Linked DNA regions of Homo sapiens: regions 2, 3, 4, 5, 6 and 7 are each linked to region 1. Evidence: promoter capture Hi-C in human tissues and cell types (Jung and others, 2019). All regions are on one chromosome and are shown on one strand. The core of a region is centred on a gene start or on the middle of the fragment in contact, and the rest is flanking DNA. Distances in the headings are between cores, read along the strand shown.

Region 1 (3,048 bases), core at 308-2,807:
ATCTCTACTAAAAAAATTTAAAAATTAGCCAAGCATGGTTGGTGCGCACCTGTGGTCCCAGCTACTCGGGAGGCTGAGGCAGGAGAATCGCTTGAGCCGGGAGGCGGAGATTGCAGTGAGCCGAGATCACACTACTGCACTCCAGCCTGGGCGACAGAGTGAGACTCCATCTCAAAAAAAAAAAAAAAAAAAAAAAAAAAACAGCTAAAGGAGGAGTTCAGGGTGATCTCTAGCTCCTGCCAAATCCCCAAATCCAAATTAGTAAGTGACCCCACAGCTTAATCTTCCCTTCTCCTAAATCCCATTGGCACACTCCCTTCCCCTAATTCTCTATTTACTTCTCTGCTTCCCGCAGTGGACTCCAATTTCCCTGAGGGTGGACACCATGTCCGTTCTCTTTCCTTGTCTCCCCAGTGCTAGGCATATACCAGGAAGCTTTCAGTACATGTAGGACAAATGAATAGTTAATGGACTTGAATCAAGCTTTACAGTATAAAAGCACTTTCACCATCTCAGGTGATCCATTGAAATAGATAGTTGCGTTTATTTTATAGTTGAGTAAACTGAGGTGCGGAAGGTGGAACAACTCACCTAAGTTCACCCCCTAAGCCTCAACCTTAGCAGTGAAACTCACTAAAAGACATTAAACAGAGCCAGGTGTGGTGGCCCTTGCCTGTAGTCCCAAGGACTGGGGAGGCTGAGGCGGGAGGATTCCTTGAGCCTAGGAGTTCGAGTCCAGCCTGGACAACATAGCAAGACTCCATCTCTTTAAAAAAAAAAAAAAAAGACATCAAACACCAGCCTCCAGCACACTTAGCTTTGAATTGAAGATGACTGAGTTAGATCTGTGTACCAAGGCTTCCATATTGTGATGCAGAAAAGTTAAGGAGCTGAATTAAGTAGGTTCTCAAACTGAACCCCGGACTTCGAAGCTGGTTCCACGGTTTTATAAGGGCCACAAGAGGCCATCTAGCCCAAAACAGCTAACTTTCCAAACCGAAACTAGTTCAGAGGAAATCACTGACTCAGGTCAGCTTTTTATTAAGGAAATTAATTTTGTACCGTGAGCTCTAGAAGCCAGGCATATGATATTCAGACAGCACTGGATTCAGAACTATGCAGACTAAGGTCAGTAGATGGTAGGCAGGTCTATCTTCTGCAGCTGCAGGGTGCTTGACTCCAATTAAACATCAATACCACATCAGGAGCTCTTATGCCATAACCGCCCAACCTCTCCCAGCCGAGCTGATCACCAGAACCTGCGCGAATCTCTCCACGGTCAGCCCCACCCAGGGCTCAGGCTCCGCCCCCGGGCCTCCATAGCCCCGCCCACCGCCCACCCATCCAGCACCGCCCTTGTTGTCATGGTGATCTCCGGCTCTCCAGGGTGTCCAGGAGTCTCTCTGCTGCCAGCCCCGCCCAGACTCCAGGCAGGTTCTCGTTGCTATGGTGATCGCCGGTGCAAGCTGGATGCTTGGACGCGCCGCTGCCAGTCCAACGCAGACCCCGCCCACGACGTCGACGATTCGTGTAGCCCGCAGGTCCCGCGTGGCTCTCGTTGCCATGGTGATCGCCGCCGCTGGCTCAGGCGGACCAGGCCGCGCGGAGCCCCAGCTTTCACAGCCATCGCTGGTGAGTCAGCTCGCCCACTCTGTCCGACCCTCCCGGTCACCCAACCCCGTGCTGGCACATCCCGAGGCCAGGGCCGCGAGGGCACAGCGTCCGCGCCCACTTCCCGCCCCTATAACTTGAAAGCGGCCTGCGGCCCCGGGGCGTCCTCATTTCCGGAGCGCAAACTCTGGGCCAGGCCCGCGCTGGTTGTGGAGGAGAGCCAGGTCAGATGCGGGAAGACAACCGGACTCCGCCAGGACCACCCCAGCCCAGCCTGGAGAGGAGTCCGGACAGAAAAAGGAGACAGAGGGGCTGTTGAGGAGGCTCGAGGAGTCAGAGGCCTGGTGAAGTGAGGGTTTTCAGGGAAAAGGCCTAGTTGGCTGAAAGTTAAGGCCCCCAGGCCCACCTAGAGCCTTCGTCCTTTGCAGACTGGGAGCAGGAGACCCCTCCCCACTCTACTTCCACTGCCTGAGCTGTGCCATGCCTCACAGCCCAGTAAGGTAAGCTCAGAGGGGAGCTCCTCCTTGGTAGACACCTGTCAAGGGGAGACCCAGGTCTTCTGACTCCCAGGCAGGGTGGGGCAGGCCTGGTTCCCCCATACCATGCTGCCTGCTGTATGCAGATTGAGAGAAATGGCCTCTGCCCCATATTCCTGACAGAGAGGGAAGCCTGGATCTGGTTTTATTTATAATTCTTGAGACAAGGTCTTACTCTATCACCCAGGCTGGAGTGCAGTGGCACCTTCACGGTTCACTGCACCCTTGACCTCCCAGGCTCAAGCATTCCTCCCACCTTCCTCCCAAGTAGCTGGGACTGCAGGCACAGGCCACCATGCCCTGCTAATTTTTTTGGTTTTTTTTTGTAGAGACTGAGGTTTCACTTTGTTGCCCAGGCTGGTCTCAACCTCCTGGGCCCAAGTGATCCTCCCACCTTGGCCTCCCAAAGTGCTGGGATTACAGGCATGAGCCACTGCACCCAGCCTGGATCTGATGAAAAGTTAGGTGGAAACTCATGGGTGAATCCCCAGGTATTTGCACAGCTCCTTAACTGTCTTTCTCCTGGTTGGGTCCACAGGACTGTGGAAGAATGAGGTCCTCCCTGACACCTTTGGGGCCCCCTGTGAGCCGCGACCGTGTCATCGCCAGCTTCCCTAAGGTAGAGAGTCATTACGTCTGCAGTGCTCTCCTGGCCCTGCAGCCACATCAGCTCTCCCCACTCTACACTCATGCCTAGAAGTAAAGCAGGTGAATCAAGGAGGTCTGTCCATTGTCAGATTTACCTTGAGGAGCTGGGAGACTGGTCACTGACTGCCCAAGGTGGGACCGCAAGTTAATGGTGACACTGGGCAGCAGTGTGGCCTGGAGGTTATAAGGGCTGGGATTTTGCAGCCAGACAGTCCTTGATGTGAATCCTTCATTCTGATTCTGTCATTAAGCT
Region 2 (3,048 bases), core at 339-2,838, 770 kb after region 1:
TCCTATTCCGAGCTGGTTTTGGCCATTCTTTGTTATTGTTATGTTCTGTTTTGATCAGCAGGGTTTTGACAGGTGCTTGGAAAAATCCTGCTGATCTCCTCCCTCACAGGGACATGCCTACTGCCAAAGGAGAGACGGAATTATCTTTCTATTCTCCCCATAGAAAATATTACAAAATCACTGTCACACGAAAATGTGATCAAAGAGTCTGCAGCCAAGAAATATGGGGGGGACAGAGTGTTTTAAAGGCGAAGGTGTGTCTGTCACTTAGTAAAAATGTCAGGATTCTTTTTTTTCTGGAGTTTGTGGTGTTTGTCGGCTTTTCAAAATTTGTCATTCCTTTTCTTAATCTAAATAATCATTTTATAGAGAAAAAAAATTACTCATCAGTGTTGATGATGCCCTGGTTTTCTGTTCAGCTTTGTTTTCCAATCAACTCTTCACCCAAGACTCAATCCTCCACCCTCCAACTCTTCATCCAAGACTCAATTCACCCAACACTCAATCCTCCACCCTCCAACTCTTCACCCAAGACTCAATCCTCCACCCTCCAACTCTTCACCCAAGACTCAATCCTCCACCCTCCTCCAACTCTTCACCCAAGAGTCAATCCTCCCCTCCCAGTGTTTACTGATCAGCCTCCTATCAGCTATTAATGGGACCTCAAACATTCTCTATGGCTCTGTTCTCACGCAATGCAATCTGCTAATCTCTAGGAACTGCAGACCCCACTTAATGCATTTAAAGTATGTATAATGTGACCCAATAGCTTCTTTATCCCAAGCTTATTGATTCCTATAAGAATCATCATCCTCAAGTCACACATGAGGAAACTGAGGCCAAGGCCAATGCTAAGGCTGATGGAAGTGACAGATGTTGAAGATGACACAGCATGACACGAGGGATGAGGTCAAGGCTATTGATGAGGTCAAGACAGCTGTTGTGCTTTGTCCCAAGGCCATTCCAGTTGGTGACAAAATAACTATAACAGATTCCTGGCCAGGGCTTCTCCCTCACAGCAGCTGCCTCCTACTGGAGTCAGAAATGCCTTGGTTTATATAGTTTCATTCATAGGCTGTCTTAACTCTATTTAAGCAGAAAAGGGCTGAAATGTCTTGCCCAAGATCCCTCAGCTAGTAAGTGACAGATGCAGGTTTCAAATCCAGGTCGCTGGACTCAGGGCAGGGCCAGGGGGAATGAGGGCAAACAGACTGGCAGCTGATCAAACTGACACTGCCTTCCTGGTAAAGGGGACAGTGAGGAGAAATTGACAATAGCAGGAGGCTCTGACCACAACAGGCTGCCTCCAGTCTCTTCTCTCACCAGTGGCCCCCAAAGCCACGTGAGTTGGGCTTTCTGACCACACTTTATTGCATTTGCAGACCCTACATGCTTTAAACACACTTTTAGTATCTCACTGGGTCTCTAACAACCCCAGGAGTGGGCAGGGCAATAATTATTTCACAGTTGACAAAGCAGCTTCACGAAAACATTGGGAGCTCAATAACTTCCCTATTGGGATGCACCCCCAGGAGCTGTTCAGTTAATGTCATAGCAGGTTCAGGGAATGGGCTTAAACCCCAAGATATCCTACACCATTTTGTACACAGCAGGTTCTGTAGGGAGAAAACCAACAAGGTCTTCCCGGAGGGAATGGGCTTAAACCACAAGATATCCTATACCATTTTGTAAGCCTCCCTGTGATCATTTCCCATCCAAGTACTAACCAGGCCAGACCCTGCTTAGCTTCTGAGATCAGACGAGATTGGGCGTGTTCAGGGTGGTATGTGAAAGATTCTCCCCGGGGCCTGAAAGTTTGGGGGGATGAATAACTCCTCCCTTCTCAGGCCCAGTCCCAAGGCACAAGACCACTTGTGCTAGCAGCGTGTGTCAGCAAGATAGCAGAAGCAGGAAGAGAGCTGGCCAGGAGACACGTACCCCTGAAGATCAAGAGAGAGGCCATCTGGGTACCATGTAGCAGTTACATCAGACTGGGACACTTCCTGTTTACAGGAGACTATAAAACCCCTGCCCCGTCCTCACCTGGGGCTGACGCCATTTTAGGCCTCAGCCCATCTGCACCCAGGTGCTCATTAAAACAGCGTGTTGCTCCACACTGCCTTGTGTTCTTTGCTGGCAAGCTCTCGGGGTTCGAACCAACACAAGAGCCTTACAGTATGGCCGCAGATGTCTCCCAACATTTCACAGAACCTGGTCAGAATAAAACATTCCATGGGGGTTCAGGTCATAAAAAAATACTGCCTAACCACCTAACCACAGGAACATCTCTATTACATCCTGCTGGATGAAGGGCCCAAGGAACATCTTCAACATCCTGCAGGGGAGCAAGCTATACTGCCCCTTCTCCCCCGGTCCAGACCCATAACTGACAGAGCAGGAGCACTGCCATCTTGAACAAATACCACCATTCTAAGTTCCCCCTTCATTAAAAGCCGCCTAAATCCAGCCCCAAAACATCAGCCTAATGGCTAATGTCAGCATAACCAGAAATATTCCAACCCTAAGATAAACCCCTCTGACCAGAAACATGCCAACCCCGAGACAGCCTCCCTTCCGACCAGAGACATTCCAACCCCGCAATAAACTTTCCCTCACACAGAAACATTCGGAACCTACGATAAGACCCCTTCCAAAACCCTTAAATATCCTTAGTCTGTAACAGAAGTTAGTCTGAGCTAACTCGGCCAGAAGCCCCTCTCAAGTTTATTTTCTAAAATAAACCTGTCCTTGTTGACTGCCCAGCCACCCTTCGTGTTGCTTTCCTCTTCCTTATAGTAAATGTCCCAGTCTGTAAGTGGGACTCGTGCTCTGAGACTAAGCTGGTCCCCCCTCCACAGGTTTGTGCTGGCAATAAACCTGTGTTGCTGTTAAGCTGCCAACTCTTTAACCCTCACCTTCCCTTCAAAACCTAACAAAGATGAATGAGGCATGAACATGAAGACAGAGGGTCAAACCCAAAGAGCAGATTCCGTGAGAAGTCTCCCTATTGACAAGGGTTACTAAGGATGGGGTCTTCTCTGGACCCCC
Region 3 (3,048 bases), core at 184-2,683, 730 kb before region 1:
TTCTTGCTGATTAGTTTGAGTTCTTTGTAGATTCTGGATATTAATACTTTATTAGATGTATAGATTGGGAAGATTTTCTTTCACTCTGTGGGTTGTCAGTTAACTCTGCTGACTGTTTATTTTGCTGTGCAGAGGCTATTTCATTTAATTCAGTCCCATCTATTTATCTTCGTTTTTAATGCATTTCATTTTGGATTCTTGGTTATAAAGTCTTTGCTTAAGCCAATTTCTTCTAGAATTTCTAAGGTTTCATGTCTTAGATTTAAGTCTTTGACCAATCTTGTGTTAGTTTTGTATAAGATGAGAGATGAAGATCCATTTTCATTCTTCTACGTGTGACTTGCCTATTATCTCAGCACCATTTGTTGAATAGCGTCTCCTTTTCCCACTTTATGTTTTTGTTTGCTTTGTCAAAGATCAGTTAACTCTAAGTATTTTGCTTCATTTCTGCATTCTCTATTCTGTTACATCGGTCTATGTGCCTATTTTTATACCAGTACCATGCTGTTTTGGTCATTATGGCTTTATAGCATAGTTTGAAGTCAGGTAATGTGATGCTTCCAGATTTGTTATTTTTGTGTAGACTTGTTTTGGCTACCGGGGCTCTTTCTTGGTTTCATATGAATTTTAGTTCTATGAAGTTCTGTGAAGAATGATGGTGGTATTTTGATGGAAATTGTATTAAACTTGTAGATTGTTTTGGCAGTATGGTCATTTTCACAATATTCATTCTATACATCCATGAGCATAAAATGTATTTCCATTTGTGTCATCTGTGACTTCTTTCAGCAGTGTTTTGCAGCTTTCCTGGTAGAGGTCTTTCACTTTCTTGGTTAGGTATATTTCTAAGTATTTTAGTTTTTTGGCAGCTATTGTAAAAGGGGTTGAGTTCTTGCTTTGATTCTCAGCTTGGTTGCTGTCGTTGTATAGCACTGCTACTGATTTGTGTCCTTTAATTTTGTATCCTAAAACTTGCTGAATACTTTCACTAGTGCTAGAAGCATTTGGGGTGAGTCTTCAGGGTTTTCTATGTATACAATCATATTATCAGCAAACAGTGACAGTTTGACTTCCTCCTTATCAGTTTGGATATCCCTGATTTCTTTCTCTTGTCTGATTGCTCTGGCTAAGACTTCCAGTACTACGTTGAATAGAAGTGGTGAAAGTGGGCATCCTTTTGTTGTTCCATTTCTCAGGGGAAATGCTTTTAACTTTTCCCCATTGAGTATAATGTTGGCTGTGGGTTTGCCATAGATGGCTTTTGTTGCCATAAGGTATGGTCCCTTCTATGCTGATTTTGCCAAGTTTGAATCATAAAGGATGCTGGATTTCGTTAGATGCCTTTTCTGCATCTATTAAGATAATCATGTGATTTTGTGTTTTAATTCTGTTTATATGGTGTATCACATTTATCAACTTGTGGATGTTAAACCATCTCTGCATTTCTGGTATAAAAGCAATTTGATCATGGTAGATTATCTTTAAGACAGCTGTTGGATTTGGGTAGCTAGTATTTTGTTGAGGATTTTTGCATCTAGATTCATCAGAAATATTGGTCTGTAGTTTATTTTTGTTATGTCCTCCCTGGTTTTGGTATCAGAATGATACTGTCTTCACAGAATGATTTAGAAAGGATTCCCATTTTCTCTATGCTGTTGAATAGAGTCAGAAGGATTGGTACCAGTTCTTCTTTGAATATCTAATAGAATTCAGCTGTGAATCCATCTGGTCCTGGATTTTTTGTTGTTTGCAATTTTTTTTATTACCATTTCAATCTAGCTGCTTGTTATTGGTCTGTTCAGAGTTTCTACATCTTCCTGGTTTAACCTAGTAGTGTTGTATATTTCCAGGAGTTCATCCATCTCCTTTAAGATTTCTAGTTTATGTACATAAAAGAGTTCATAGTAGCCTTTAATGATCTTTTGTATTTCTGTGGTATCAATAGTAATATCTCCCGTTTCATTTCTAATTGAGCTTATGTGGGTCTTCTCTCTTCTTTTCTTGGTTAATCTCGTTAATGGTCTGCCAATTTTATTTATCTTTTCAAAGAACCAGCTTTTTGTTTCATTTATCTTTTGTATTTTTTTTTGTTTTGACTTCATTTAGTTCTGCTCTGATCTTCATTATTTCTTTTCTTTTCCTGGGTTTGGGTTTGGATTGTTGTGGTTTCTCCAGTTCTGTGAGGGGTGACCTTAGATTTTCTACTTGTGCTCTTTCAGACTTTTTGATGTAGGTATTTAATGCTATAAACTGTCCTTTAAGCACCACTTTTGCTGTATCCCAGAGCTTTTGACAGGTTGCATTAAGATTTAGAACAATTGCAATCTTACTATCAATCAACAGCTTTTTAATTCCTGAGGATGTGACCTCATTTAATCCTGACAATAGCTTTATTATTGCTTTTCAGGCAGTAGACCGTGATTGAAGAGGTAATGCTTTGTGGCCTGGAGGTAAGGTTCTAAAATTTATCAAATATTAAATTGGTGCACAAGTAATTGCAGGTTTTACAAATAAAAGTAATGGCAAAACCCACAAGGACTTGTGCACCAATGTGATATAAACACTGGAGGTCAGTTAAATTTGAATTCAGTAAAAACAATGATAAAGAATCTGTATGTGTATCACCCACACAGTATTGTTCAATTGTAATACAAACAACTGGGTGCCCTGCATTTTATCGGGAAACTCCACACAGGGTTCGCAGCTTGAAAGAGGCAGAGCTGTGGCAGGCCTGCCCTTCCTGATGCCAGGTCTAGGTGCTTAACGTCAAAGACAGAGCTTCTCTAAGAGAGCTACCCTCAAGTGAACATGTCAGTTGGCACTAAATACATGTGATATGATCCCCAGTCAATGATCCCCACTCACTTCCCTAATTCTTTCTATTATCCTTTAAGTTTGCAGACTCAGGGCCTCCCCAGAAATTGCTGCAGCCTGAGTTCTGGACCTGGGACCGCATGTCCTGTCACAACCAGATGCAAAAGGGCTCTTTAGTCCCTACACAGAATGGCTTCAGCCAGGAGAGCATAAATAACATGTAAGATTAGAAGA
Region 4 (3,048 bases), core at 225-2,724, 710 kb after region 1:
CGTCTACCCCAAGAATTCAAGAATGGTTTACCATTAGAAAGTTTATTGATGTAACTGATCTCATTAACAGATTAAAGGAGAATACCCATATGATCATCTTAATAGATGCACGAAAAGCATGCAATAAAATACCTATTTATTATAACTGCTAATATTTTGTGTTTTTCCTTAAAAATGCAGTGTTTTTAGGAATTAAAGTTCAGAGCAGCAAAAGTCAAACAAAAACCAAGTCTGAGCAATAGAGCTACTACAGTGCCCATCACAGTGTCTGCTCAGGTGACTTCTTAAGGTCATGTCCAGCTCTATGTTTCTGTGACCACAAATAGCATCTTTGGCAAGTCTAGTTTCAGTTGGTCTTTGTCCAGCTCCTGGATTCCTCCATGCAGGGCCTGAGAAGCCCTGAGGGATAAAAGATTAATCCGGTTCAGTGGACTCTGTGGTTCCTCAACTCCAAGTGCCCCCAGCATAAGTCGGACCTGCCTCTCACGCAATGGATCCCCTGGCGGCAACCCGAGACCGGTTCTCCTACCCGCATTCCGCCAAGTCTCTCGCTCTGCCCAGGACGCACAGATGAGAGCGCTCCGAAGACTGGTGGGTCTATCTTTCGGTCTTTCCTAATTTTCCCGTCCTCTGGGGAAAGGTCGGGGATACCTGAACCAAAGTGTGTGTGTGTGGGGGGGGGGGGGTGTAGGTGGGGCGTGCATAGATGTGCACAACCAAGGGCTTGGCCCTCCGGAGAACGCCCAGGGGCAGTGGCCTCCGAGGTTCTGGCGGCCGGCAGTGGCGACCGGCGCAGGGAATCGCGCAGGGTTGCGGCTGAGGTCAGACCAGCGAGAGACAGAGACCCGCAGACATTTAGTCCAGAGACTGTAGCAAAGGAGGGGGACGAGGGGCCAGAGCCGGAATTTCGGGGGAGGACTTGGGAGCGCGGCGACCAGAGTCGCTTGCTGGCACTTGCGAGGGCGAATGCAGGGGCTTGGCCGAGATGACCTTGGACCAGAGCTCCCTTCCGGCCTGCAGAGATGAGCTTGGGGCTTAGCCGAGTAAGGAGTGAGCGGCTTTTCAGCCTCAGTGCTGCGGCAGAGGCGGATGGAGGATGAACTGGAGCCGTCCTTACGGCCTCGGACGCAGGTGAGCTCCCAGCGGCGGCGACAAACCCCGCGGCGGTGACCCCAAACCCCCCCCCCGCGGCGGCGACTCCCCCCCAACACGCTGGGGCGAACTCCCCAGCACCCCCAGCCCTTCTTAAAAACGCTGAGTCCGCGCATGCGCCTCAGGCGCCCTCCGCGACACTCTAGCGGCTCTGCGCTTCACTGCGCCTGAGCTTGAGTCTCAGGCCTTAGTCCCGGCCATCGTTTAGCGTTGCGCGAACCCTCAGCTGGTGCGGCCGCTCTCAATACCCACTGCGCTTGCGCTACAGCTTCGTCTCGACGGGTTTGCTCCTCTCAAACGCTCACTGCGCGTGCGCTAGCGCCTCTTTCACCACTGGGCGCTGCGCGCTGCCCTTCCCTCCGCGCACAGGCTGCCGGCTCACCGCTTGCTAATGGCAGCCGGGGTCTCCCTGGGACAGCAAGACCTCCGCTCAGGCCCCTCTTTCGAATGCTCCACGCCCTCCTGCGATCTAGAATGGTATGAATTCTCATACTTGCCCAGACCAGGCGTTTCAGATGAGGGATTGCGGACCTGAGTGAACTGCGCAGGTGCAGCCACCTGGGAGGCTTAACTAAGTCGTCAAATGTTCAAAAATATCGTGCTTGTATGTACAGTGGCGTTAGGTGCTAGGCTCAGATGTGCATAGGCAGGTGTTTACGCCCAGGGTCGGCCTGTGGGCCAGAGCAAGGTTGCTGGACCCTGGCATCCCAGCCCCCAGAGATGCTAAATCCTCTGCCGATCAGCCCTGACCTCAGAGGCAGTAAGCCCTCCGAGCGCTGCAATCCTGACTGCTCGCCCCCTCCCGAGACTGTTTCCCACCCCCGCCTCTTTCCTCCTCATGCTCCCTCAGCTCTGACCTGACGTCCTGCCTCACAGAGGGAAAGGGCGCAGCCAGAGGAGAGCGCCCGCACTGCACTGCCCACCGCTTCTAGGGGTTCCTTCCCAATCTGGACTGATTTCTTTAGGTATTTGCATGGCACATTCCCTCACCTCCTTTGTCTTGATTTGCACTTGTATTCCTTGACAGCCTTATTTAAAATAGCACCAACTAAGGTGGGAGGATCGCCCAGGAGTTCGAAGCTGCAGGGATCTAATAGGATCTCACCACTGCACTCCAGCGTGGGCGACGTAGCGAGACCTTGTCTCTAAAAAATAAAAATAAAATAAAATAAAATAAAATAGCACCACCTGGTCCAAACACTTCCTACGCCCCTTCACTGCTTTAAGTCTCTGTAGCACCAGCTGATGTACTATATATTTTGCTTGTTCATTTTGCGATTGCTTGTCTTTCTCTGCTGGAAGGAAAGCTCTGACAGCTCATGGATTTTGTCTGTTGTTCACTGCTGTATCCCAACACCTAGAACAGTAGGATTATTGACCATAATAGGGAGGCAATAAATCTTTGTTTGCTGAATTAATGGTCCCTATCGTAGCTAATGTCTGAATGCTTACCATGACCAGGCACGGTATAGGCAATCTCCATGCATGATCTCATTGAATTCAACGATTTCCTGTAGTCTTAGAGACCTGTCAATATCTCCTGCTACATGAGCTCAGCTGCCATCAAGCACTGTGTTCGCTGCTTCCTTCACATCTGCTGTCTTAAGGGAGCTCTCACTTCCATGCGGCCCCCGTGGAGCTGTAATTTGGCCTCAATGGGACCAGATGCCAGGTTTCTCACCTGGCTTCTTCCTAAGGCTTCCAGCCTTAGAGAAAGTTACTTAGGCCTTATTGGAACTATGGGCAGCCAGGGCCCCTGTCACCAACCTGTCTCCAGACCTATGGCAAGGCCTTCAGCAGGATTCTGCCCTCCAGAGCCACTTCCTCTGCTCCCCCAGCCTCCAGTGCAGTATCTCACTGAATGGTGAAAGCACAGCTGTCTCTTTCCCAGCTGTA
Region 5 (3,048 bases), core at 296-2,795, 690 kb before region 1:
ATTGCTTTGTATTCTAAAAGGAGCACTAACAGCTGGATCAGATCTAAAGGCTGAGGCTAAATGCATTTCCTCCAGAAAGAAGCATCTTCAAAGTATGGGGTTTCTGAGCTAAGAGTAAAGAGAAGAAACTCTACTTTTGTATATTTCTAAAGTTTGTTTTATTGAGTTACTTTCAAAGCAATACATGCCTATTATGTGGAATCAGAAAGTATTAAAAATCACCAAGTTCTCTGCAAAGCTACCTTATCCCAGATAATCAATAGAAGTACATTTCTTCATTTGGATGCATTCTCTCATTTTTGTTGTCAATATTTTCACAATGGTTATCAAACCTTGTGCTCATTCCTCTGGTTTTATACAGCTTTTTGCTCTGTCATTTAATGTTAATGTAAGTAGTTTTCCATTTATTTGAAAGGGTAAAATATTTGAGTAGTTGCTAATTTTATTTTTATTTGAATACCAATGAAAAATTATAATTTGGGGTAATTCAAATTGCTTGTCAGACAAAGATGTGACATTGGGCTATTATTAAAATGCTCCTGGTCTTCTCTGTGGATTTAGTGAAGTCAAACAAAATGCCTGCAATTTTCTATGGAAAGCCTTGAGTACATTATGCCTGACTTCACAATGCAGAAAATAGAGAAACAAGAATTTCCTGCTCATGTTTGCTGGAGCATAATAGATTCAGGTACGAGGAACAACTTATATTGAAAACTACGTCAATGTCTCCATGCATGTGTTAGAACAGTACTTCCCAAACTCTATTGTGCATACAAATTATCTGGGGATTTTATAAAATGCAGATTCTTATTCAGTGGGTCTGGAGTGAGGACACAATCTCTGCATTTCTCACATGTGCCTGCCACACAAAATCCACATATATATTTGAATAATAACAAGTCCAGCCAGCAGTGGAGGCTCATATGTGTAATCTTAGCACTTTGGGAAGCTGAGGCAAAAAGATTACTCGAAGCCAGGAGTTTGAAACCAGCCAAGAGCAACATAGCAAGATATTTTCTCTATAGTTTTTTTTAAATAATAAAAAATGAATTAGCCAGGCATAGTGCTGTATGCTTGTAGCCCTAAGTACTAAGGAGGCTGAGGCAGGAGGAGAGCTTCAGCCCAGGAGTTCAAACCTGCAGTGAGCTATGATCATGCCACTGCACTTGAGCCTGGGTAACAGAGTGAGACCTTGTCTCTAATAATAATAAGAAAAACGACAACATATCCATAAGACTAGTATCAAATAAGGAGAATCCTTGGCAGGCAAGAACCTAGGAGAAATCTCTGACATAGGGAATTTACCAGCTTGCATGATAGAAGAACCCCACACTCCATGGAGGGAGATGACCAGGGAGGACAGCTGCAAAGCTAGGAAAGGCTCCCCTTTCTTTGAGAGCAAAAACAAAAGCAAACAAACAACAAACCTGACCTTCCCTCTGGCTCCTGTCCAACACTCTTACTGGCTCCTCCTTCAGCCTTTCCTATAATGTGGCCCATCCTTACCCTCTCCCCTTCCACATCTCTGATTCCTGAATTCCCTTCTTTGTTCTCTTTCCCTTTGCTACCACCCACTTCTCCCCTCTAATCTCTTGAGTTAATTATCAAGGGCTTTATAACAGGAAACTCATTGGCATTTTTTCTGCATCTGTCCTTGAAGTTGACACTCATACTTTTATCTCTTTCTTGAACCTCTCAGATATGCTTAGAACTGAAGAAGCCCGAAGTTGATTGATTCTGTTTTTTCACCTCAGCCAGCACCTTCTTCTTCTCCTTTCCAGGAGAATCTGTATTTCTCTGTATTTCCAGAATTCTCTGTATTTCCAGTGAATCTGTCAGACACAGTAAGTACCTCTTCAAAGGTTTAATTTCTGACTTCATTGTTCTTTGTTCTCGAGATGAACTTCCTTGTCCCTTCTCCTAAGCTACCTGCTCTGTAAACAACTTCTCCCACCAGTCCCAATCTGTAACTCACATCTCCTCCTTATTTAGAAAGAGTCCTCTTTTACTCCTTGCTACCCATTCTGTAAACTGCCCCTCCCACAAAACTACCCTTCCCACATTTGCCACGCCCTGACATGCCCAAACATACCTTGTACCATAATGGACTGCCTCTCCCTTCCCACCTAATTAGCCATACTCAATTTTAAACAGTAGCCAATCAGGTCAGTTTAGATTGTGTGGTCCAACTCCAGCCAATGGGGACAGGACACAGAAGCAGGGACTAACCACGTTAGGGATGAAAACCCCTTCCCTCCTTTGTTTGGTGTGCTCTTGCAGTGGTCAGAAGTGCAAGCGGCACTCTTCTGTAGAAATAAGTTTGCCTTGCTGAGAAATATTTTGTCTGAGTGCTCATTTTCCTTGCGACTCTGAGCTCTTGTTTCTAACAAAATAGGGGGTCATCTGGGATTCCCATTCTCCTCTGAGGAAGGGCCTCTGATCACCTCTTAGGAGGAGATGCATCCCACTGCTTCATTGCAGTGGCCTCAGGGGTAAGGAATCAGGACCCACCCAGCATGATAAATAAACCCAGACTCTCAGCAACACAGGAAGAAAAGGCCTACAGTTACCGTGGCGACCAGGTAACTGTGCACAGACAAAGGTAAGAAAAACCACTAGGGCAGTGAAGTACTTCCTTAGTGGTCAGGACATTCTGCAGGTTGAAAATGTGTGAATGAGATGCACAATTAAGTGCAAAGTGAGTGTGGAGTAAAGTAAAGGGTGCAAGAAATCTCTAGTAAGAGAGGTTGAGCCCCAGGGAAATGGTGCAAGAAATCTCTAGTAGGAGAGGTTGAGCCCCACGCACACTCAGCAGGGAAAGGAGAGCGAGAAACCTCCAGTAGCGGGGATTGAGCCTCCAGGGAAAAGGGTGCAAGAAATCTTTAATACGAGAGATTGAGCCCCCATTAACCTCCAAGACGGGAGTGCAAGAAATCTCTAATATGAGAGATATGAGCCCCCATTAACTTCCAGGATATGAAATACCCTAGTAAAACAAGAACTACAAAGGGCAAAGGAGATAACACAATTCCCTCTGATAGCCTTCTA
Region 6 (3,048 bases), core at 341-2,840, 670 kb after region 1:
CTTGGGAGGCTGAGTCAGGAGAATTGCTTGAACCCAGGAGGCCGAGGTTGCTGTGAGCCAAGATCACGCCGTTGCGCTCCAGCCTGGGCAACAAGAGCAAAACTCCGTCTCAAAAAAAAAAAAAAAAGGCAAAAGACAGGAAGAGAAATTTCACTAAAGAAGTTATATAGGTGGCAAATAAACATTGAAAAGCTTTTCCACATTGTTAGCCTTAGGGAAATGCAGATTAAAATTACACTGTTATTCCACATCTTTAAAAAGTGGTGACAGCATCAGATGCTGGCGAGGATGTGGAGGAACTGGGTCACTCACAAGCTGCTGATGGGAATGTAAAGTGGCTGGAAAACTGCCCTAGAAAACAGTGTGGCAATTTCTGTTAAAAACTAAACATGCGGCCAGGCGTGGTGGCTCACACCTGTAATCCCAGCACTTTGGGAGGCCGAGGCGGGCGGATCACGAGGTCAGGAGATCGAGACCATCCTGGTTAACATGGTGAAACCCTGTCTCTTCTAAAAATACAAAAAATTAGCTGGGCGTGGTGGTGGCTGCTTGTAGTCCCAGCTACTCGGGAGGCTGAAGCAGGAGAATGGCGTGAACCCGGGAGGCGGAGCTTGCAGTGAGCCGATATAGCGCCACTGCACTCCATCCTGGGCGACAGAGCGAGACTCCGTCTCAAAACAAACAAAAAACTAAACATGCAACCAGTGTACCTTGAGCATTTATCCTGGAGAAATGAAGACATGTTTATACAATAGCCTACACGTGGATGTTCATAGCAGCTTTATTTATAATAGCGGGAAACTGGAAATGATCTAGATAGCCTTCAGTGAGTGAATAGTTAAAGTGAGGCCCCTTCGTACCACAGAATGTCACTTGGCAGTAAAAGGAAGTGACAATCTGGATGAATCACTGGATACAGATACAGTCCTCTATCTTGTCTTTTTTGGAGGAAACTGGGCGCAGTGTGCATGGAATTTCTCTGTGTTGTTTCTTGCATCTGTACATGAATCTACAATTACTTAAAAATTTTAAAATGCTCTGGGCAGTGTATTCACTGGGTGTTTACCCCGTGCACCTGAGGTTCCTGCTGTTGCTGCCCCGCAGGCTGTTAGGATGCTGGTCTCCAGCGTGTCTTTAGGGCAGGGAGGAGATAGTGGGGCTGTGGTCTGTTAGGCCGACCTGCTTCTTGATGATGGAATCCTACTGTCTGCTCTGAGGCAATTTTTCTTGGCTTTTTCAGCTTATTCCTGCAAGGCGTCTTGTCAGTACGGTCTGGGTGGAGCAGGGAGAGAATGTTGACTGAGAGGACCTTGCTGAGGTCTGGCTGGCCACAGATGGTCCCTGTGAGCTCCCATCTGGTACAATTCCTTTTCCAGGATCCGGGATCTGTAGGGACCTCCACGCTTGTGACCTTGTTGAGGCCCTGCTGCTGCTACTGCAGTCACAGGCCTGGAAATCGCTGTGGCTTGGCACAGTGTGTTTTGCTCACATGAGGCCTGGTATTGGGCCAGCCTCTGTGCCATCACGTCTGCCACCAGTTCAGCACAGAGGGGAGTAGAGAGATGGCACGCAAGCTTTGATGTGCCTTTGCTGGCCTCGCCTGGATCATCTCATTAGTTGGGATAATCTCATGCGCCCACCCAGCTATGAGTGGAATGAGGGAAGTGTTTATGGCCATGACCACCCCCAGGGCATGGAGCAGGAGGTCTGTGCAGGATGAGGGCTGGGGGCCTGCTAGTCATGTGCTTCCTCCTTCCACTCCCAGTTTCCAGGAAGGCCACCCCCAGTGCCCTGGTTGTCCTCTCCTGCATCCGGAGATGTTTGGCTTCAAAGAAGAAGGGGTGAGGGAGGCCGGTCCATGCCCAAGCATGGTGCAATCTCTTGGCATCCCTTCCCTCTCCTGATTTCAGAGAAGTTGATGACGCCTGAGATGTTTTCAGAAATCCTCTGTGACGATCTGGATTTGAACCCGCTGACGTTTGTGCCAGCCATCGCCTCTGCCATCAGACAGCAGATCGAGTCCTACCCCACGGACAGCATCCTGGAGGACCAGTCAGACCAGCGCGTCATCATCAAGGTAGGTGACTTCTCACCCAGCACTGGAGCCTTCCTGGCCCTCAGGGTGGGTGTCATCATGGAGCACTGAGGGTACACCAAGGCCTCAGCAGAAGCCCGTCTTTGGGTTCCATATCATCTGGAAAGTCATAACACCTGGCTTTGCTCCCTGCAATCCCCCAGGAAGGGCATAGGCTGAGTTCTCATAGTAAAGTGTTATATTCCGGACACATTCAGGGGGTGTCTCTGAGGCACTGCCAGGCTCTGAGCAAAGCCCGGAGGTCTAGAGGAGGTGAAGGCAGCTGATTGGCTGGGCCAGGCTGAGTGCTCCAGGGGGGCCTAGTAACCCAATAAGATGCTGCCTTAGTGGCCATATTACAGGTGAAGAGGTGGGCACGTGGAGAGCTGAGATCACCTGCGGAAGTTGCAAACTGGCCAGTTGAGAAATGGTGAGGCTGGCGATTGGGCGCAGGCCTGCACCCTGCAGAGCCTATAGCATAATCCTTGCTGTGCTGAGCCGCCACTGCCAGACTATGCCTTGAGGGTGAGGGGAGCTTTGAAAATAGGAAGATATGAGAAGTAGGTGAAATTGGCACATGTGATGACCCTAAAAAGGTCAGTGGTTTGGTTAGATCTGATGCTGTGCCTTTGGCTTCCATTTTAGGAAAACATTGATGTATAAAAATAAGAGCCATGTTACAAAGGGTTCCTGAAAATAGTCTTTGGGGTCGAGGAGCCTCGGGAGGGATGCCTCCTGTGACTGAGGGATGCCTCTGCCCCGTGCACCAGATGGAGCCTGGGCCGACTTCTTCCCACTGTGGTTCTCCGTGGCACTTTACTAAGATTTTGGAAAATAACGTGGGGGAATCACCAGCAACTTCCTCTGTGGTCCCCCAAGTAACAAACAACTAAATATCTTATTTAGTTAGTCAAGACAGTCTCACTGTGTCGCCCAGGCTGGAGTGCAGTGGCTCGATCTTGACTCATTGCAAC
Region 7 (3,048 bases), core at 245-2,744, 660 kb before region 1:
TGGCTAACTTTTTTGTATTTAGTAGAGAGGGGGTTTCACCGTGTTAGGCTGGTCACAAACTCCTGACCTCAGGTGATCCACCCGCTTTGGCCTCCCAAAGTGCAGAGATTACAAGCATGCGCCACCACACCTGGCCCCAAAAATGGAAATAGAAATTATTTAAGCAATATACTTATTACCTTTAAGGGCAAATCATTTCTTATTAAAGCCAAGAACAAAGAAGCCCATTAACTCCATCTTAAATATTGTTTAGAAGTTCTGGCTGTAGTGCCGGGCACGGTGGCTCACGCCTGTAATCCCAGCACTTTGGGAGGCCGAGGCAGGTGGATCATGAGGTCAGGAGATCGAGACCATCCTGGCTAACATGGTGAAACCCCGTCTCTTCTAAAAAAAATATAAAAAATTAGCCGGGCGTGGTGGCGGGCGCCTGTAGTCCCGGCTACTTGGGAGGCTGAGGCAGGAGAATGGCGTGAACCCGGGAGGCAGAGTTTGCAGTGAGCCGAGATCAGGGGCCACTGCACTCCAGCCTAGCTGACAGAGCGAGACTCTGTCTCAAAAAAAAAAAAAGTTCTGGTGGTAGCAATAAGGCTAAAAATGAACACAAGTGGCAAAAAGGCAAAGATTATACAGTGGTACTAAATAAAAATTACAAACTAAAAATAGGCCAGGCATGGTGGCTCACTCCTGTAATCCCGGCACTTTGGGAGACCAACGTGGGCGGATCACTTGAGGCTAGGAGTTCAAGACCAGCCTGGCCAACACGATGAAACCTCGTCTCTACGAAAAGTACAAAAATTAGCTGGGCATGGTGGCACACGCCCATAGTACCAGCTGCTAGGAAGAATCACTTGAACTCAGGGGGTGGACATTGCAGTGACCTGGGATCGCGCCACTATACTCCAGCCTGGGTCACAGAGCGAGACTCTGTCTCAAAAAACAAAACAAACGTCCCATTTTACTTATGGTGGAAAAACAATACAGCAACAGCATTTTTTTCACAAAACATTTTATTACTATAATTGATATTTTACTTATAATTTTTGGCAACATTAATAAAATAATAAATTTCACCTGAAAGAACAAGCGAGCAAAATAGACAAGGAAATTCACAAAGGGCAATAACAAAATAGTAATCTTGACATATTCAATATATTTGTAAACAAAACAAAGTGACATTGCCTTAAAAATATATAGAGGTATCAATAGAAAAACAGAGAAAGCTCCTGAAAGAACTCACTATATTAATTTTCATTTGGTTGCAGGCACAGAAATTGACTCAAGCTAGCTCAATTCTAAGACAGAAGCAAAGCCCTTGATGATGATCGCTTTCCAGCTTTTTCATGAAAACCTAGGAAATTTAAATACTTTGAAGAGGAAGAAAAGAGTGGGGAGAGAGTAAAGTGCCTTTAAGAGGAAAAGTAGAAGTTTTTTTTTTTTTTTAAAGGGAGATCTCATTGTCAGTGGCATTTTAAGAGCCTTGAAGCTCAATGAACCAAAGGAAGTGTCAAACAATTAAGTGAGGTAGCAAGCCATGCAGGCCTAGGGGAAGGGCATTCTAAGAAAGACAACAGCATGTGCAAAGTCTTTGGATTGGGAAGAATGTGATTTGCTTAAGGAATAGCAAGGCCAGTGTGTCAAAATAGTGCATCATTGGGGAAAACAGTGGAGAAGCATGACAGAGAATGAAAAAGAGAGGAAGGAGGTAGGCAGGGGCCAGATCACTGGAATCTACAGTTGGCAATTAATGACCATATGTACTCCTTAAGAGCATGCTTTAATGAGACTGCAAACAACAGTGTTGATAATACCAACCAATCACTCAACATACAACTAAAACACTTCATATTTTTACCACAGAAACAGAATACGGGAGGTAAGTATGAAAAGTCTGTAGATCTATTTATACACAGTGGGAGTATCTACCTGAGACAAGAAAAACTGGCACACACACACCCACTTGCACACACATACCCTTTCTTCAACTAAAGAAAGGATTCAGGCTGTAATTTTAGCAAAGTGTCTTAACCCAAGCAACGTAACTGAAAAGACCTAGTATAGTGTTCAAGGTGCAAATCAATCAAATGAGTGTCCGGCAAATAAATACAACAGAATCTATGGATCTAGAGTCAGAAAATTTTCTAAAATGTAGATAATATACTCACAACTTCTTTGTTATCTGTACTGCCTTCTACTCTAAGAGGGATGCTAAGCTCTTAATTATCTCTTCCCGGATTTTTGTGAAAGCTTAGGAAATTTAACTAGATTGAGGAGGGAAGAAAGGAGTGGGGAGAGATAAGGTACCTTTAAAAAGAAATCAAGGAAAAAGGGAGAGATTTCTCCAGACCTATGTATGTCTACAGCCAAGATGGCGGATTCCTTGACTGGTGAAGACAGGCTGCTGGGCACCTTGGTCAGGGGTGGAGGAACAAAGGATGGCACCAGAACACAAGCAGGGAGACAACTCCGGGAGTCCACAGAGGCAGCCAAGACTGCTGATGTTCAGGAACCAATACTCAAAAGGTACTCCAGAATACTGTGAAACAGCCCCTGGGGAGAGCAAGGGAAAAAGATTCACCCATAGTACAGATTAGATAGGATAGATCAGATGAAGGACATTAACTCTAAGTCTTAAAACTTATTGAATTAGAGAGACATTTCTTGCACACTGGTGTGTGTCAGGTAAGACCCAAACAGCATTAGTGTCAAAAAACTGGGAAACTATACATTTAACAGAATAGCTGCAAGCTGTAATACATTCATGTCCAAAGCAAGACATAAAGTTGCAAGCTTCACATGTTCAATTAGGGTAAGATATATATGCACAGAAAAATATAAAGCCATTATGGGTTTAAATTCAGTCAGTCACCCTGGGCTATTTTTGTCCACTGTACCTACTGTTGTTGGGACAGTCCTCATTCCAGCTTAACAGTGGGAAAACTAAATTTAGCCCAGTCCAGGAACTGGACAGACACCACTTGTTTGGCCCTTTTCAGTTAAAACTATGGGTCCAGTACAGTTCAAATTATAGATATTAGGGCTTCTTCCCCT

What was found. Contacts are between HindIII fragments. The study calls those that stand out against the background at their distance.
Region 2: a contact is called between a fragment that was not itself captured here and the fragment with the promoter of RAB36 in region 1, in 1 of the 25 tissues and cell types used here (dorsolateral prefrontal cortex).
Region 3: a contact is called between a fragment that was not itself captured here and the fragment with the promoter of RAB36 in region 1, in 1 of the 25 tissues and cell types used here (small bowel).
Region 4: a contact is called between the fragment with the promoter of SLC2A11 here and the fragment with the promoter of RAB36 in region 1, in 2 of the 25 tissues and cell types used here (IMR-90 fibroblasts and dorsolateral prefrontal cortex).
Region 5: a fragment that was not itself captured here is called in contact with the fragment with the promoter of RAB36 in region 1 in 5 of the 25 tissues and cell types used here (dorsolateral prefrontal cortex, hippocampus, liver and 2 more).
Region 6: a fragment that was not itself captured here is called in contact with the fragment with the promoter of RAB36 in region 1 in 1 of the 25 tissues and cell types used here (dorsolateral prefrontal cortex).
Region 7: a fragment that was not itself captured here is called in contact with the fragment with the promoter of RAB36 in region 1 in 2 of the 25 tissues and cell types used here (bladder and mesenchymal stem cells).

The regions. Positions count from the first base shown.
Region 1 is chr22:23,143,920-23,146,967 of GRCh38, forward strand. It overlaps RAB36 (RAB36, member RAS oncogene family), which reads left to right and starts at 1,558. Exons shown (of 11, transcript NM_004914.5): 1 at 1,558-1,632; 2 at 2,686-2,766. The coding sequence starts at 2,698. It also overlaps a transcript of RSPH14 not described here. RefSeq lists a silencer at 1,311-1,380. The HindIII fragment of the contact is 15,551 bases long and covers 1-3,048 here.
Region 2 is chr22:23,909,735-23,912,782 of GRCh38, forward strand. No RefSeq gene overlaps it. Among named protein-coding and RNA genes, the nearest start is that of MIF-AS1, 12 kb to the left of the region's middle. The HindIII fragment of the contact is 3,077 bases long and covers 51-3,048 here.
Region 3 is chr22:22,412,223-22,415,270 of GRCh38, forward strand. It overlaps IGL. Among named protein-coding and RNA genes, the nearest start is that of ZNF280B, 95 kb to the right of the region's middle. The HindIII fragment of the contact is 9,595 bases long and covers 1-3,048 here.
Region 4 is chr22:23,856,401-23,859,448 of GRCh38, forward strand. It overlaps SLC2A11 (solute carrier family 2 member 11), which reads left to right and starts at 1,475. Exons shown (of 12, transcript NM_001024939.4): 1 at 1,475-1,629. The coding sequence starts at 1,600. The HindIII fragment of the contact is 17,543 bases long and covers 1-3,048 here.
Region 5 is chr22:22,450,883-22,453,930 of GRCh38, forward strand. It overlaps IGL. Among named protein-coding and RNA genes, the nearest start is that of ZNF280B, 56 kb to the right of the region's middle. The HindIII fragment of the contact is 8,338 bases long and covers 1-3,048 here.
Region 6 is chr22:23,814,860-23,817,907 of GRCh38, forward strand. SMARCB1 (SWI/SNF related BAF chromatin remodeling complex subunit B1) reads left to right here. Exons shown (of 9, transcript NM_003073.5): 6 at 1,911-2,077. Among named protein-coding and RNA genes, the nearest start is that of DERL3, 23 kb to the right of the region's middle. RefSeq lists enhancers at 1,071-1,572, 1,573-2,074. The HindIII fragment of the contact is 6,101 bases long and covers 1-3,048 here.
Region 7 is chr22:22,483,432-22,486,479 of GRCh38, forward strand. It overlaps ZNF280B (zinc finger protein 280B), which reads right to left. Exons shown (of 4, transcript NM_080764.4): 4 at 990-3,048. It also overlaps IGL. Among named protein-coding and RNA genes, the nearest start is that of ZNF280B, 24 kb to the right of the region's middle. The HindIII fragment of the contact is 3,491 bases long and covers 1-3,048 here.